Linked DNA regions of Homo sapiens: all the other regions are linked to region 3. Evidence: promoter capture Hi-C in human tissues and cell types (Jung and others, 2019). All regions are on one chromosome and are shown on one strand. The core of a region is centred on a gene start or on the middle of the fragment in contact, and the rest is flanking DNA. Distances in the headings are between cores, read along the strand shown. Region 1 overlaps SH3GL2 (SH3 domain containing GRB2 like 2, endophilin A1). Region 2 overlaps SH3GL2 (SH3 domain containing GRB2 like 2, endophilin A1). Region 3 holds the start of SH3GL2 (SH3 domain containing GRB2 like 2, endophilin A1). Region 4 overlaps SH3GL2 (SH3 domain containing GRB2 like 2, endophilin A1).

Region 1 (3,709 bases), core at 988-3,487, 120 kb after region 3:
TTGATGGGAGAGGAGTCTCATTTTGCTTTCAGGATAGACACTGAACATCAGTACATTTGTAATCGTGGTAACCACCCCTGTCTTGGTTAGAGCTTTCATGGTAATAATTTAATTTCTATTGATAAAAGAATTTATTACTGAATGTATAGTGGAGAAGAGGAAGCTTATTAATGATCTGAATTTATGTGAAGTGTACGCTATATTTTATTTTCCTACTTTCTTCCATGCCTAATAATATTTTTCAAGATTTTTAGTGGCAGTGCTTCTCTCGTTTTTCTAGTTGGAAACTTTCATATTATTCAGAAAGAAAAAATCCTGGTAAGGAAATTGGAGACCAATTTTCTGTATTAGTCTGTTCTTATACTGCTATAAAGAAGTACCTGAGACTGGTAATTTATGAAGAAAAGAGGCTTAATTGACTCACAGTTCCACAGGCTGTCCAGGAAGCTTGTCTTGGGGGGCCTTAGGAAACTTAAAACCATGGCAGAAGGTGAACCGGAAGCAAGCACATCTTCACAATGGCGGAGCAGGAGAGAGAGAAAGAGAGAGCAAATCTTGGAATATACTAAGAGTCTGGTGTTGATTGCCTATTTTTTAATGCTAATAAGTAAGTGTTCTTTTTCTCTGGGGGATTTCTTAACTGTTCTATTGTAAAAGCAACTACTATAATTGCCTTTTATAATACCCAGATCGCTGGATTTGCTATATACTAGACTTGATGTACCTGAAGCTGCTAACAGGATTGCCTGTCATTTAGCTTTCAGAATTCAATTTATAAAATGTCATTATTTTTCCCCTTCCACTGCAATACTAGAGCTGAAGACAGACAGGGAAAAGCAAGCAAATATTTGAGAGTGTGAATGGTATAAGTTGAGGGTATGAATGTTGGAAATGAACATATTCACCTCTAAATAAAGTGAGAGAAACCGCTATTCTTTCTAAATTTTCCATGTGCCAGTAAAATGGGAATGGTGATTTCCTTAAGGTATTGCTCTGGAGAATTTAAATAATTGAGTTAAATGTCAAACTTCACATTTAGAGAGCCTACTAAAACCTTCACAAGTGGGGGCTTACAGACTAGAGTTTTATTTTTATTTTTATTTTTTCTGTAGGGAATGGAGTAGGGGAGGCAGTGGCACACTTAGGTGATACCTTGCACAGCAGTCACAATGTTGAAATTTGAAGAAATCTAGTGAAAATTATAAAATTTTCACTAGACATGAATAAATCATTATGAAAGAATATAAAAATAGCCAGAGATCACTAGAGGGGAAAGAGGCACTGCAAAAGTTACTGGAGGGAATACAAGAGAAGAAAATAATTAGAAAACAGTCAGTAAGAAATGTCATCCCATTCTGTCCCCTGGCTGCTTTTTGTGGCTTTGTTCAGTGGGTGAAAATTCTGGAGTGTTTATTGGTGTCTTGTAGCATAAGATGAAATATCTTATCAAGATATTTTCATTTTCTCAAAGTGAAATGCGATCCCTTTAACTTCTTAGGATGACAGGTACATGTGGAAGCATCAGAGAGGAACTTGGGATCCCACGAGCTAGCCTCTGCTTCATACACAGTGGAGTAGATGCCTGAGGTTGTCAGCAAATATTGAAGATTTTTATTTCCAGGGGGTTAGAAACTTCACGTAGCTTCTCTGCTCTGCACACATAAGGAGTAAGTGGATTATTTTCCCTGAGTCAGTAAGGTTTTCGGTGTCACATAATCTCAGGGGAACAAATGCAATTGCTTAGATCTCAATATACTCCTCAGATGGCAACTTTGAGGAGGTAACCAGGAGGTATCTGCACTCCCTCTGTGCTCGCCTGGGGCCTTCTGACTTTCTCTGTAAAAAGCCCTTTCTGTATTGATGCTCCCGGGTGGTAGTGGGTTGGATGGCCATTACATAATCACAACCTCTTTTTTTCAGTCAGGGTAGCTATTATGCAGAGAGCTAGGAGTGGATTACTTCTTGGCAGGAATAAGCACAGAAAAATCTATCCAGATTTTTTTAAAAATGGAAACATTGTGAAAAAAATCTTGATGTCTCTGAAATTGGAGGATGGTATTTTATCTGAGGAACATGGGTAGGGAATGTTGGGGTCATTTCTTAGCTCTGACCTTAGTAAGTCATAGAGGCCTTTTTATACTGATGTTGCATTTTTAAAAGGCATCTTGACATGATGGGAGAAAAACAGCAGACCAAAAGAAGGCAGACCTGATAGTTCTAGTTCAGGCTGTGTTGTTGTCTGAGTTGTCCTGCAAGCTGATACAAATCACAACTTCCCCGAGCCTCTCTTTTCTCATCCCTTCAGTGAAGGCCCTCTGTAATACCCAAGTCCTTTCCAGTTCTGAAGTCTGTTCAAAGTGGGGGCAGCTGGAGGACTCAGGGAGGTCCACACTAAAGAGGACTTTTTTTTTCCTTTTTTAAAGAGAACATTTTTAAAATCTAGCTTTATAACTCAAGGATATTTTAAATACAGATAACTATTACATTTGTATTTTGTAATGAATATTTCAGATTTATGTTTGTGCCTTGAAGCTAATTGACTGTGAAGAAAACGGTTTTATAAACAAAGCCAAAGAGAAAGTATTCCTGGATGTATTACAGCAGACAAATAATCACTTTACTACTATGGTATATTAGTCCATTCTCACACTGCTATGAAGAAATACCTGAGATGGAGTAATTTATGAACAGAAGAGGTTTAATTGACTCACAGTTCCACATGGCTGGGGAGGTCTCAGGAAACTTACAGGCCTGGCAAAAGGTGAAGGGGAAGAAAGGCACCTTCTTCACAGGGCGGTAGGAAGGAGAAGTGCCGAGCAAAGGGGGAAAAGCCCCTTAAAAAACCATCAGATCTCATGAAAACTCACTCACTATAATGAAAACAGCATGGGGGAACTGCCCACATGATTCCATTACCTCCTACTGGGTCCCTCCCGTGACACATGGGGATTATGGGAACTACAATTGAAGATGAGATTTGGGTGGGGACACAGCCAAACCATATCACATAGCTTTGGATTATCCCTTCCTTTTTTCGATTTTTCATAGCCCATTTTTTGTGGATGCTAAAACCAAAATTGCTCTCCACATGCATAGCATATCCATAACCCTCTTACCTTCCATCACTTTCTGGGACTTGTTCTTATTTTAGAGTGACTTTTAAAGACTGAACATGCAGAAGCCTCATTGCCTCTTAGAAATAAAGGATGCCCTTCTGGGAGGATGTACTAAGTCCAGTGTTGGAACCTTGATACTGTCCTGGGCTGACATTTCCTCTTTAAGAATCAGCTCCCTCACACCACAGGGTATTAGAGAGGCCACATGGGCTGTGAAAACCGGGCACTCAGGGCTGGATAGATTGATTGCTAACAAACATATAGTCTGCTTTCTTCAGAATTAGTAGCTGGCTTTGCACCTTCAACTTGAGCATGAGCTCAAATGCATTTCTTTTTTTTTTTTTTAAGGCGGAGTCTCACTTTTTCACCCAGGCTGGAGTGCAGTGACATGATCTCGGCTCACTGCAAACTCCGCCTCCCGGGTTCAAGGGATTCTTCTGCCTCAGCCACCTGAGTAGTTGGGATTACAGGTGCACGCCACCATGCCTGGCTAATTTTTGTATTTTTAGTAGAGACAGGGTTTCACCATGCTGGTCAGGCTGATCTCCAACTCCTGACCTCGTGATCCGCCCACCTTGGCCTCCCAAAGTGCT
Region 2 (3,884 bases), core at 40-2,539, 71 kb after region 3:
TGAAATGTTCAAAAGAGTTTCCTATGATAATGTTTGGTTCATTCAGGTTGAAAATGATGAAAACAACTTCTAGAAAGAGATGACAGTGTAAGTTACATCTGGCAACCTAGAAACAAAGTTCTGTAGACTACTCATCATATCAATCATTTTTTCCCAAATTATTATGGTGAAACCTAGATACAAAGAGCACTGTTCCATCAGGGATCTTATCTATCTCTGAATAGAACTGTGTTTCCTGTATGATGTTGTGTGTGAGTGCATGTGTATAAAAATAAGTCTGTCAATGTGGGCTTTTTTTCCTTTTTCTCTTAACTCAAGGATTAATCGTAAGGTTCTCTAGTGTACATTTTTCATTATTGTTTTGAGAAAGAGTCTTACCCTGTCACCCACAGTGGACAGTGACATGATCTCAGCTCACTGCAACCTGCGCCTCCTGAGTAGCTGGAATTACAGGCATGTGCCACAACACCCAGCTAATTTTTTGTATTTTTAGTAGAGGCAGGGTTTTGCCGTGTTGGCTAGGCTGGTCTCGAACTTGTGACCTTAAGCGAACCACCTGCCTTGGCCTCCCAAAGTGCTGGGATTACAGGCGTGAGCCACCATACCTGCCCTATCGCGTACATTTTTAAAGGCACAATTGAAACCAGTGTTCTGAATTAAACCACTCACATTAGCTTACAAATACTACATTCTGATTTGGTTGGATCTCTGTTTTCAGTATAATTTAAGTGAAAAAAATCATAATTGTATGATAAAGATAAATCGATGTTACCAAAGTATATTTAAAAGGGCATTGGTAAATACCACAAAACGTATTTTCTGTTTTAAATGGAAAAAATAGTTTACTATGTGCCTATTTAACTTACACAAGGGAGTTTGCTTTATTAGAGTAACTGCAAATGAGGCAACAAAATTTTTCTTTTGGCAAATACACGTATTAGGTCTCATTTCAGGTTTGAGGAAAATAGTGAATATTTTTAGTTATTTTGAATACAAATATGTAATATTCTTTTTCTGAGAAGCCTAAGTAGTTTTTCTTGCTATGCCTGAATTTTGGCAGATAAACGTGTCAAACCAATTTGTTATACACCTGTTGTAACAGAAGTGACAAAGAAAAATCACAGTTCAGAGATTTGACAGGTTTGTACTGAAATGGTGTTTAGTATATCTAGGTGTTCTATCTAGAAAAAAAGTATAGAATGGCTCAACTTTAAATTGATTAATCTAAAAAGAAAAGCCTTCATAACCACCAGCTTTTATTTAGTGTTCCACATATTTCTAATATTCCAACAAGGATATCTTCCCTGGAGAGAGTAGAGTTGAGATCATACCAACTCTGATTAGAATTTTCACTTAAGAACAGCAGTTGAGATGATGTTATCTACATTCAGATTCTCAACTTAGTTATGGAATAAAATATTGCACATGCTGTGTTTGATAAAAAGTAAGTGAAATGTGAGTATTGTCAGGATTTTACTTAAACTAGAAATAAATGATATCCTTGTAACAGTTTGAAGTACACAAAAGAACGTGATATATCCTCTTTCTCAAGCCTTAATAATCATGGTATGGATTGGTTGAAGATTATTTGAGGTGATATCCACTTGAAGTTTTTTTGTTTGTTTGTTTTTTTTAAGACGGAGTCTCGCTCTGTCACCCAGGCTGGAGTGCAGTGGCGCAATCTTGGCTCATGGAGACCTCTGCCTTCCGGGTTCAAGCGATTCTCCTGCCTCAGCCTCTTGAGTAGCTGGGATTACAGGCGTGTGCCACCACGCCTGGCTAATTTTTGTATTTTTAGTAGAGACAGGGTTTCACCATGTTGGCCACTGCTGACCTCCTGATCCGCCCGCTTCAGCCTCCCAAAGTGCTGGGATTACAGGCGTGAGTCACCACGCTCGGCCTTGTCTTGAGGTTTTTATGGCTGAAGCATATTTTTGTAAATCATGTTATTGGTGATATGATGGCTAAAGCCGACCTGAATACATTATACAGTCTTTCCTATTGTGAACATATTAATTAACTTGTGAGATTGCTCATGATAATTCTTTTTAGGGCATCTTGAGACTGCCTTCTGCTGCATTAGGAGAGTTTATTGTTTTATGAAATACATGTTTTCTGCCCATCACTGGTCATCTTATGTCCTTAATGCTAGAACAATAGGAATTTTCCCAGGGCTGAATTCTGGCACCATTTCATACTAGACCTTTTCTCTGTTTCTCCCCTTTTCCTTGTGTGTGTGTGTTTGCACGTGTGCACACATGTATGTGTGGTGTGTGTGTGTGAGAGAGACATAGAACACCTATTTTGTTTCTTGGCTTTGCTTTTTATTGTTTTTTCATTAGTTTTTACTGTTCTTAATTCCTAAGACATAATGAATTTTAATATCTGGCAGGGTAAACTTTCAGCTTTTGCTTTATTTTCTTGAAAAAAATGTCTAAGCCATTTTTTTCTCCATGTATATTTTTAGATTTACTTTGTTAAGCTTCCTCAAATTCCTGATGGGATGTAATAGGAAATCCTCTGAGACTATAAATTAATTTTACAGGGATTTGACATCTTTAAAATGTTGACTCATCTCATCCACGAGTATCTTCTTTCTGCATTTATTTAGGGAATTTTAAATGTCCTTTAAAGTTTTGACATTTTCTCCTTGAGAATCTTGTGTGATCTTTGTTAGATTAATTCCAAGATGTATTGTTTTTGTTGCTCTTATAATTAATGCTGTGTTTGCCTTTTTTCTGGTTATTGCAGAGGAATACTCTTCACTTTGTGTATATTGGTTTTATATTTGACAGCTTTGCAGAATTGTGTAGTTAGTTCTCCATTACCTTATTAGCTGTATATCTTTGTTTTAGCAGTTTGTGGGTGATAAATTCTTTCTGCTTTTGTCTGTTTAAGGAAGTCTTTATTTTGCTTTTTATTTTGAAAGAGATTTGTGTTGGCTAAAGAATTCTAGGATGACATTTTTTTCCTTTTAGCACTTTAAAGATGTTGTTTTCATATTTCCAATATTTCCTCATCTTTAGTATTGATATTGCTTAACTTGTTTTAAATTCTTATTTTGTCTGTTTTCTCACTCATTACTTCAGTAGTTATTTTTCCTCTATTTTTATTCTGTCTTTAAACTGCCCAGGGTTTACTTTTACTTATGGTGTGAGTCGGGGATCTTTGCCAAATCATTGCCTCCTCTCTCTTGTCAGTCCTGCCTGAGACTCTTCCAAATTATTAGCCTTTTCAAAATACCACTTAGTGGTTCATTAATCAGTCTGAGTGATGAATTGATTGACTGGATTTTTTTTAGTTCATTGATTTCTGCTTACATCTTTATTTTCTGCTTTCACATTTCTGGCTTTATTCTCTTGGATTTGTCCCCTTTGGTGGATTTAGTTATCAGCTAATTGTAAATCATTATTATTTTCTATTGAAGGCATTTAAAGCTCATAATTTACTGTTGTTACTGTTTTAGGTGCATGCCGTAAATTTTGGCATGAGTTCTTCCCTTCTCATTATACTTTAAGGATTTTATAGTTTCCCTCATTTCTTCTTTAAATCATTATTATTCATTATTATTTTTACATATATGTGTTTTTATTTTATATTTCAGATATGTGCAGTCTCTTCTAGTCATCTTTTTTATTGTTTCTACCTTTATTATATTGAGGTAAGAATATAATCTGGTGGAGTTTTTGTAATTTTTTGAGGCTTCAGTTTTGGTCTATGAGGTGATCAAGTTCTGTGACTGCTCCATGAGTGCTTCAGAAGAGCAGCTAGTCTATGTCACAACACTATTAATTAGTGTATTTACATTTTCTCTGCCATTTCTGAGATGGGTGTCTTAATACTATATATTATATAGAGTGAGTATCCCTAATCCAAAAATGTAA
Region 3 (4,069 bases), core at 353-2,852:
ACATAGAGAAAAAAGTTTATTCCTAACAACCGGAGCCTCAGTGGATTAAAATTACTCAGGTTTCTCACTGATGCTACATGCCCATTGAACGTCAGGTGGGGACTCTGCACTGCTTTAGTCTCACTCTGGATACTGGCTGACAGACCACAGCTTTCTAGAATATTGCGGCCGAGGAAAAGAAAGCTTTGCGGCATCTCATACATCTCATATTGCTGCTGCAGAAGTGACAGTCACTTTTCCTCTTAAACCTCTAGTCAAAACTTGTAACCATGCCTCCACTTAACAAGAGGTTTGGAAAGTGCAATTCTGCCATGTAGGGAAAGGTATATGAACAGTGGTAAGGGCTACCACACTGGAGAATAGCTCCTTTCATCTGCCTCCCTTTGCAGCCTGCGTCCCTAGTCCATGCGCTCTACTGCTCCAGTGCCCACCACTGCTTGACTCTGCCTTTGTGTGTGTCAGTTCACATTATCAAGAAGGACCATGACTGGTAGCTCTACGGATGGAGGACCCTTTTGTAGCAGGTGTTCACCCTGTGCCCAAGCCGCAGTGCCTAGAAGAGTGGGGATGGGTCTGTGGCTCCTATCAGGCTGCAGGAGTTGCGGAGACAGAAAAAGTATTTCTAGGACTCCCATTTGGCCTTGCAGTCTCTACACATCCTTGGCAATTTCTCCCATCTTGGCTTCTCCTTCTTATCACTTTGGTCCACATACGGGGACAGCGTCTAAGTTCTTTCTGACCACCTCCTCAGTCCTAGAAAAACCAGACTTGGTTAAGTACCAGAGCACAGAAGGCATTTAGTGCTGCTCTGCTCCCAAGTCATCTATTAGTTTCACTTTAGCCAGCCATACCTCCTTGGTTACATATGAAGCATCTGTATATAACTTAGTATCATGCTTTTTCACATTATATTTTGATTTTTATCGGACCGGAAACCCTAAATCCACAAGCATAACAACAAGATCACATTTGGGCTTTTTCATTTCTGTAACCAGAGGATTGAACGCTAGTTTTGTAGTAAGACTTCAATTCTATTTATCCGTCCAGGCTTAAGGGTTCCTGTTCTTCTTTTTAAGTCATTAAATTGTATCAGACAAGGGGGAAAACGCGTGTGTGACTTTCCCTAAGGTAAGATGGGCTTAAGGGATATTGAAACCAGGGCAGAGAAATGTTTTCTGTGACCCACCAGTCAGGGCAAGGCATAGAAGGAGCAATGACTTATTCATTAGCCCAGATAGAAGGCCAGTCTTTTTCAGGCTGCGGCGCAGAGACGCCAGGCTCAAAGGGCAGGAGGGCCGTCTGCAGGCAGCGCCGCCGCGGCTACCTGGAAGCCCAGCAAGTCACCTGAGTCCTGCGGGTGCCTGGGCTGCCAATCTGCAGCGACCCGTCCGCAGCCCCCGGGGGCAGGAACACCAACCCCGGGACAGGAGGACGTCCTCGGCCCGCTGACTAGGGATCCGCCAGCGGGTGCCGCTGAGCCACATCCCCGCAGTTGGCGCCAGCATCCAGGTACCGCGCGCCACAGCACCTGCCTGGGCGTTCCCGCGCTTGGGGCGGGGCTTCCCGCGTCCCCTTTAAGAGGCCGCATCACCCGCCCTTGACGTCAGAGTGTTTCTCCGCAAGAGCCCGTGTCCCGCTAGGCTCCGCGCCCTCGCGCCCATAGCCCCGGCGGCGGCACGACCAGAGGCGGCCAGGGGAGCGCGCCGCCCCGCTCGGCCCTCCAGTCCCCCTCCGCCTCCTCCCTCCCGCACAGCAGCCGCCAGCGCGGCCTCCTGCACCATGTCGGTGGCCGGCCTCAAGAAGCAGTTCCATAAAGCCACTCAGGTAAGGCGCGCGGCAGGTGCGTCCCGGGGCAGTCCGGGGCGAAGCTGCGAGGGGCGCGCTCGGCGCTGGCCGTCCGGCGGCAGCTTGGGGAGTTCGGCACCGAGCCTCGCCCGCGCCGGCCGCGCCCCGCCTCGCAAGCCAAGGCGGCGGCTCGGGGCATCCCCGGTCTGGGCGTCCACCCTCGGTCCCCCGCCCCCGGCTTGGTGCGCGCTGCCTTCCCGCGGGTCCCCGGCGTCCTGCCTGGTAGCGCTGCTCGCCGCCCCCGCATCATCTCGCGCCCGTGCTGCAGGAAGGGGACCGCGGCTGCACTGCTGCCGCGGCGCGCAGGTGCCTTGGCGGCGCGGTGGGAGATTATGTAAAGTCGCCTCTTCACGGGTGACCTTGCGGAGTCGGTGCACCCGGCTTTCCCGGGATGTGTTGGCATGAGCGGTGGCCGCACTGGGGGTGGCGGGGCGGAGGCCGGCGGTTTGCGCTCCTCTCCCTTACCCTGTTGTCAGAACCCTCCTTCCCCGCCGCCCGCAGGCTCCAGGGGAATGGAAGGCTGGGGTCTTCCTTTAGGGACCCGCATACATTAACTTTTACCTGGAGAACTCGGTCGTGAAACTCCTTTGAGGCCAGGGCATGACAAACAGTCTGCGGGTCTTAAATATTTCCCTAAAACAACCAAATTGTTGAAGACTTAAAATCATCATGTATTTTAAATTGTTTTTAATAAATCTTTGGCATCTTGGATGTGCCCATTTTTCTTTATGGGGTTAATAAGCTGTGACTGTAATAAAACTGATTAATTTAGATTCTAATAATTAAAATCATTGGACTCAAAGAATTTTACATAGGGGCAAGTAAGCGAATACTTACGCTGTGACCTATTTCTTACATAATGTGTGTGATTACTACTTTTTTATCCTTCTGAAATAGGTTCAAATTTATGGGATCTTTAAGGATTTTGATGACTTACCGCGAAATGTTTTTCATGATTTGGTGTTAAATAGTTTTTCATAGGTTAGCCTTAATTAACGAGCTTTCTCATAATTTCTCGGAAGTAGTGAGGTTTTTCCTAGGCTACCACAGTGGCAGCCTTGTTATGAACCACATCCAGAAAAGGTGAGGGTTGTGTTTTACAGAACCTTGGTTAACTTAGGGTGACAGATGCAGCATGTAATTCCCGTCGTGTGTGTGTTTGCACGCATCTGCATCATCTTCATCACACATTCTTGCCTTTATAGAATCAATTATACCTGTCAACTTAGGAAATCAAGAAAAGTAAGACTATTTCTGTAAAAATGTTTCTTAATGTAATTATTTTTGCTTTTCTATTATAATTGGAGTTATCTGTGACCTCTCTGCCAGACATGTTTATGAAAGTAAGTGATTTGTTTGTTGATGTAGTTTGGAAGGCTTCTAATAACTTTATACTGCAAGTTCTTTCAGGTTTACAGAACCAAGCATATGTGCTGCCCAGGAATTCTGTGGCAGGACTTCTTCGATATTACTAACCTTTTTGATTGCTCTACTGGTCACTTCTCTATAGCATATCTCAGCACTGCGTTTACCAACACATCTTTTTTCCACTTGGATTCTAAAGATTTCTTTTGCAAAGCTTAGTGCCCTCAAAGGCAATTAAGAGTCTTGGCTTTGGAGTGGGAAAGGCTAAGGTTTGAATCCTGCCTCTGCTGCTTCTGACCTTGAGAGAGTATTTAACTTCTGAACCTGTCCATGCTGAAGTGATGATAATTTCCGTTGTCTCTTCAGGGTTGAGGTGAAGAGAAACGAGTGTGTAGAACACACGTATAAAGTGTTCAATAAATTATAGTTATTGACATAAAGGATATTTTTATTAGTATAAAATACTATCCCTTATGCTGTGAAGAAGTTACCCAAGCTAGACCTTTTAGTTTTTCCAACTTAAAAAATAGAGCGCTCCATTTCCGCTAAATCTTGAAGTTCTGTGTCGCCCTAAAGTGTAGAAAAAATAATTTAAACTGCGTTAGGAAAGAACTTAAAAGGTTGGAGAAGGTCGGCATGTGATGCGATACGGTTAATGTTTATCACACCGAATCCAAATGCAGAATCACTGCGTCATTGTCTTCCTTTTACTGAAAAGCCTTTTATTTGAAAGGTGAAGCAGCACGTAGTCTCTTATCCATAATTTAGTGTAGCACACTCTTAGAAAGTCTAAGGCACAGGTGACTGTTCTGTGCATATGTATATTTAGGAGAGTATGTAAAGCCCATGTTAATGTTTG
Region 4 (3,644 bases), core at 71-2,570, 95 kb after region 3:
CCTTCAGGAGGCAAATGAGCTGCAACAGAGCCATGGTTTCTCTCCCTCTTTCTGGGAGCCACCCACCCCCTTCACCCAATACAGAGGACCTAAGGAGTGATTGATTTTATAAAAGATACAGAGTAACACACTCTGTATATTCATCAGACCGTGTAAATAACTAACTTCTAGACCTCTCAGATATAAATACATCTCTTTTTACTTCAGAAGCTTTCCATGGGTGATTTCATCCATGTTCGTGGTTTTAACTCTTGTGCTTATATGAATGACTTCCAAATGCATACCTCCAGCCTCATTCTGTTTCAGAATTAGATTTTCGTACATTCATAGGCCCAACTCAAAATGTCTAAAGTGAATTAATCTCTTAGCTGTCTTCTCCTCCAGAGAAGACTACTGCCTGCTCTGCTCTGTCATGTCTTGGGTAGTATTTGGCAGTATCACTCGGCTCTTTGATTTCTTGCCCTGTTACCCTTACACGTGGCTGTTTGCCATGGTCTGTCAATTCTGCTTCAATAGTCCTCCCTAATAAATCTTCCCTCTCTTCTACTCTTAGAGTCTCTCACCTTGACTTTTTTTTTGTTTGTTTGTTTGTTTTTGAGACAGTCTCACTTTGTCACCCAGGCTGGAATGCAGTGGTGCGATTATGGCTCACTGCAGCCTTGACCTCCTGGGCTCAAGCAATCCTCCCACTTCAACCTTCCAAGTAGCTGGGACTACAGGCACGCACCACCATGCCTAGTTTTTAATTTTTTTTTTTTTTTTATAGAGGCGGGGTTTCATCATGTTGCCGAGGCTGGTCCCGAATGCAGGCTCAAGCGATCTGCCTGCCTCCCAAAGTGCTGGGATTATAGGCATGAGCCACCACGCCTGGCCTTCACTTTGATCTTGACTCATCTCCCTGTCCCTGATCTTTGCCTGCTCAAGTCCATCTTCTATACGCAACCATGATTTTCTTTAGAAACACATTTCTGACCACATTGTTCCCCTTTAAACACTTGGATGATGCTTTGTCACCAGCAGGATAAAGTCTGAGCTCTTTGACTTGACCTACTAGCCAGCCATGATCTCCTTGTCCATCTTGATGTCTTGCCATTCCCCAAACATAACTTTAGAATACAGCAATTCAGAACTGCTTTTAGTTCCCTGAAACCACCATAATGCTTCACACACCCTCACCTGTGATTGTGCTGTTCTTTCTTACTCACCCTTGAGTCTTTATTAATTCTTTTGCTTTCAAGACTTTGCTCTGGCTTTTCTAGGGTGCCTCCCTTGATTTCTTTTGCTCACCCATCTGCTGCCATCCCAGATTATGTCAATTGACTCTACCCTAAGGTCTCCATAGGGCATCCTGTGTCTATCTCTATGATAGATCCTTGCCCACTTTATTGAATTCATCTTTAAGCTCCTTGAATGGAGGGTCTGTGTTTTATTTCTCTTTGTTTCCCTCTTTCCTTGTGTGGCTCTTGAAATCATTATGAATTGATCTGAGCACTTCCTTATGGAGGCATGCAGAATTAACAGCATAATTGTGGCAAGAAATGTCTTTGCCTTTTCTTTTTAATGCAAATGAGAGTTAGTAACATGTTCTTTGTATTTATCTTGGGTATCCATTGCTGACTACCAGATCACCAGATCACCCCAAAACTAAGCAGCTTAAAACAATAAACATTTTGTGTGTATGTGTGTGATTTTATTTATTTATTTATTTTTTTAAGACGGAGTCTCTCTCTGTTGCCCAGGCTGGAGTGCAGTGGTGTGATCTCAGCTCACTGAAACCTCCGCCTCACGAGTTCAAGCGATTCTTTTGCCTGAACCTCCTTAGTAGCTGGGACTACAGGTGTGGCCCACCATGCCTGGCTAATTTTTGTTTTTTTAGTAGGGACAGGGTTTCACCATATCGCCCAGGCTGTGTCAAATTCCTGACCTCAAACAATCTGCCCACCTTGGCCTCCCAAAGTGCTGGGATTACAGGTGTGAGCCTGCCCAAAGCAATGAACATGTTATTTGTTCATGATTTTGTTGGAAAATCATGGGCTCATGATTGAGTTGGGCTCAGCTGGATGTTTCTTCTTTTTGTCTTTTTAGGGGTCACTCATGGGTCCTCATTCATCTGGTCGCCCAGCTGAAGGTAGAAGGTCTAGAATGACCTTACTCACATCTCTGGCAATTTGTTGCTGGCTGTCAGCTCTGCCTCCCTCTCTCATCCTTAAGGGGACTGGCCAGGGTTTCTTTCCATGGCAGTCTCAGAGCAGCAAGAGACTAAGGGTGAAAGTTGCAAGGTCTTTAGAGGCCCAGGCCCGGGAAGTGTACAGTGGCAGTTCATTAACATTGTCTTGGCCAGTGCAAGTGACCAGACCAGCCCAGATTCAAGGGATGGGGAGTAGACTTCATCTAGATAGGAGGAGCCACCAGGTTACATTGCCAAGGGGTGTGCATACAGGGATGGGAGGAATGTGATTGTTTGTTGCTGTCAGCACAGTATACCTTACTAGAACTGAATTGACGTCTCTACTTTTTGAGCATTTTTTGTACATTGTTGTGGTATTTCTTTGTGGTAGTCATCTCACATGCTTTAAACTTCGTATGTCTTATTTCCTTCCTTAGTAGGTCACATTGGGAGCTCATCTTCCCCTTCACTTAGGAGACAGTGCAATAAACATTTGTATCTCTCATAGCACATACCAGATTTTTAAAATTTGGCGGGTTTTAATTCAGGACTTAAGGGGTGAATTATCTTATTAAATAAATAACTCAAGTATACAGGGAAGTGAAAGACAGTCATTTACCTAATGCTCTGAACATCTTTCTTGAGATAAAGTAGTGCTGTGAACTGATAAAGTTCACATAAAGCTAAAGAAATTCCTTTATGTATTAATATTACAGGCATTTATGTAATATCAGTATCTGTCTGAAAAGAATGCATTGATTACAAAACTCTTTAAGTTGTACAGAAGTTATTTTTCCCTAGAACTTCAAAAGTCTTTGCTCTGCAAGGGAGGGGAGAGTAAAAAAGGTGCCTTAAGGATGTAGACATGCTGTATCCAGCACTGTTATTTGTTGTCAGAAATATACTGATAAACATGCTAATGCCAGGCCGGGTGCAGTGGCTCACGCCTGTAATCTCAGCACTCTGAGAGGCCGAGGCGGGAGGATCACGAGGTCAGGAGATTGAGACCATCCTGGCTCACATGGTGAAACCCTGTGTCTACTAAAAATACAAAAATTAGCTGGGTGTGGTGGCGGGTGCCTGTAATCCCAGCTACTGGGGAGGCTGAGGCAGGAGAATCACGTGAACCCGGGAGGTGGAGGTTGCAGTGAGCTGAGATCGCGCCACTGCACTCCAGCCTGGGCGACAGAGCGAGACTCCGTCTCAAAAAAATAAAAAAATAAAAAAAATGCTAATGCCTTTCTTGCATATTGGATTTGGTCTACTGATGACTTTTTTTCCTGGAGTTCTTAGAAGCTGTGTGTAACCAAAGGGGGCTGGAGAGTGAGAGAAAGCAAAAGATTTGGCTAGAAGAAGGGAGAGAAATACATTCTGGTTTAGGGGCTATGGGTAGACCTAAGTTTTTACCCTGCATTGTATCTGAAAAACATAAATCCCTGCTGTTAATCTTAATATCTAATCTTAGTCTTTAGTGTCT

Evidence for each region. The method cuts DNA at HindIII sites, captures the fragments that hold promoters and counts their contacts. A contact is called where the count stands out against the background at its distance.
Region 1: a contact is called between a fragment that was not itself captured here and the fragment with the promoter of SH3GL2 in region 3, in 2 of the 25 tissues and cell types used here (IMR-90 fibroblasts and dorsolateral prefrontal cortex).
Region 2: a contact is called between a fragment that was not itself captured here and the fragment with the promoter of SH3GL2 in region 3, in 2 of the 25 tissues and cell types used here (dorsolateral prefrontal cortex and mesenchymal stem cells).
Region 4: a contact is called between a fragment that was not itself captured here and the fragment with the promoter of SH3GL2 in region 3, in 2 of the 25 tissues and cell types used here (H1 embryonic stem cells and dorsolateral prefrontal cortex).

Annotation. Positions count from the first base shown.
Region 1 is chr9:17,693,781-17,697,489 of GRCh38, forward strand. The region is part of intron 1 of SH3GL2 (SH3 domain containing GRB2 like 2, endophilin A1); the gene reads left to right. Among named protein-coding and RNA genes, the nearest start is that of SH3GL2, 120 kb to the left of the region's middle. The HindIII fragment of the contact is 4,547 bases long and covers 1-3,709 here.
Region 2 is chr9:17,648,756-17,652,639 of GRCh38, forward strand. All of the region lies in intron 1 of SH3GL2 (SH3 domain containing GRB2 like 2, endophilin A1), which reads left to right. Among named protein-coding and RNA genes, the nearest start is that of SH3GL2, 72 kb to the left of the region's middle. The HindIII fragment of the contact is 5,181 bases long and covers 1-3,880 here.
Region 3 is chr9:17,577,464-17,581,532 of GRCh38, forward strand. SH3GL2 (SH3 domain containing GRB2 like 2, endophilin A1) reads left to right here and starts at 1,603. Exons shown (of 9, transcript NM_003026.5): 1 at 1,603-1,824. The coding sequence starts at 1,780. RefSeq lists a silencer at 415-613. The HindIII fragment of the contact is 4,711 bases long and covers 1-3,793 here.
Region 4 is chr9:17,672,573-17,676,216 of GRCh38, forward strand. The region is part of intron 1 of SH3GL2 (SH3 domain containing GRB2 like 2, endophilin A1); the gene reads left to right. Among named protein-coding and RNA genes, the nearest start is that of SH3GL2, 95 kb to the left of the region's middle. The HindIII fragment of the contact is 4,998 bases long and covers 1-3,644 here.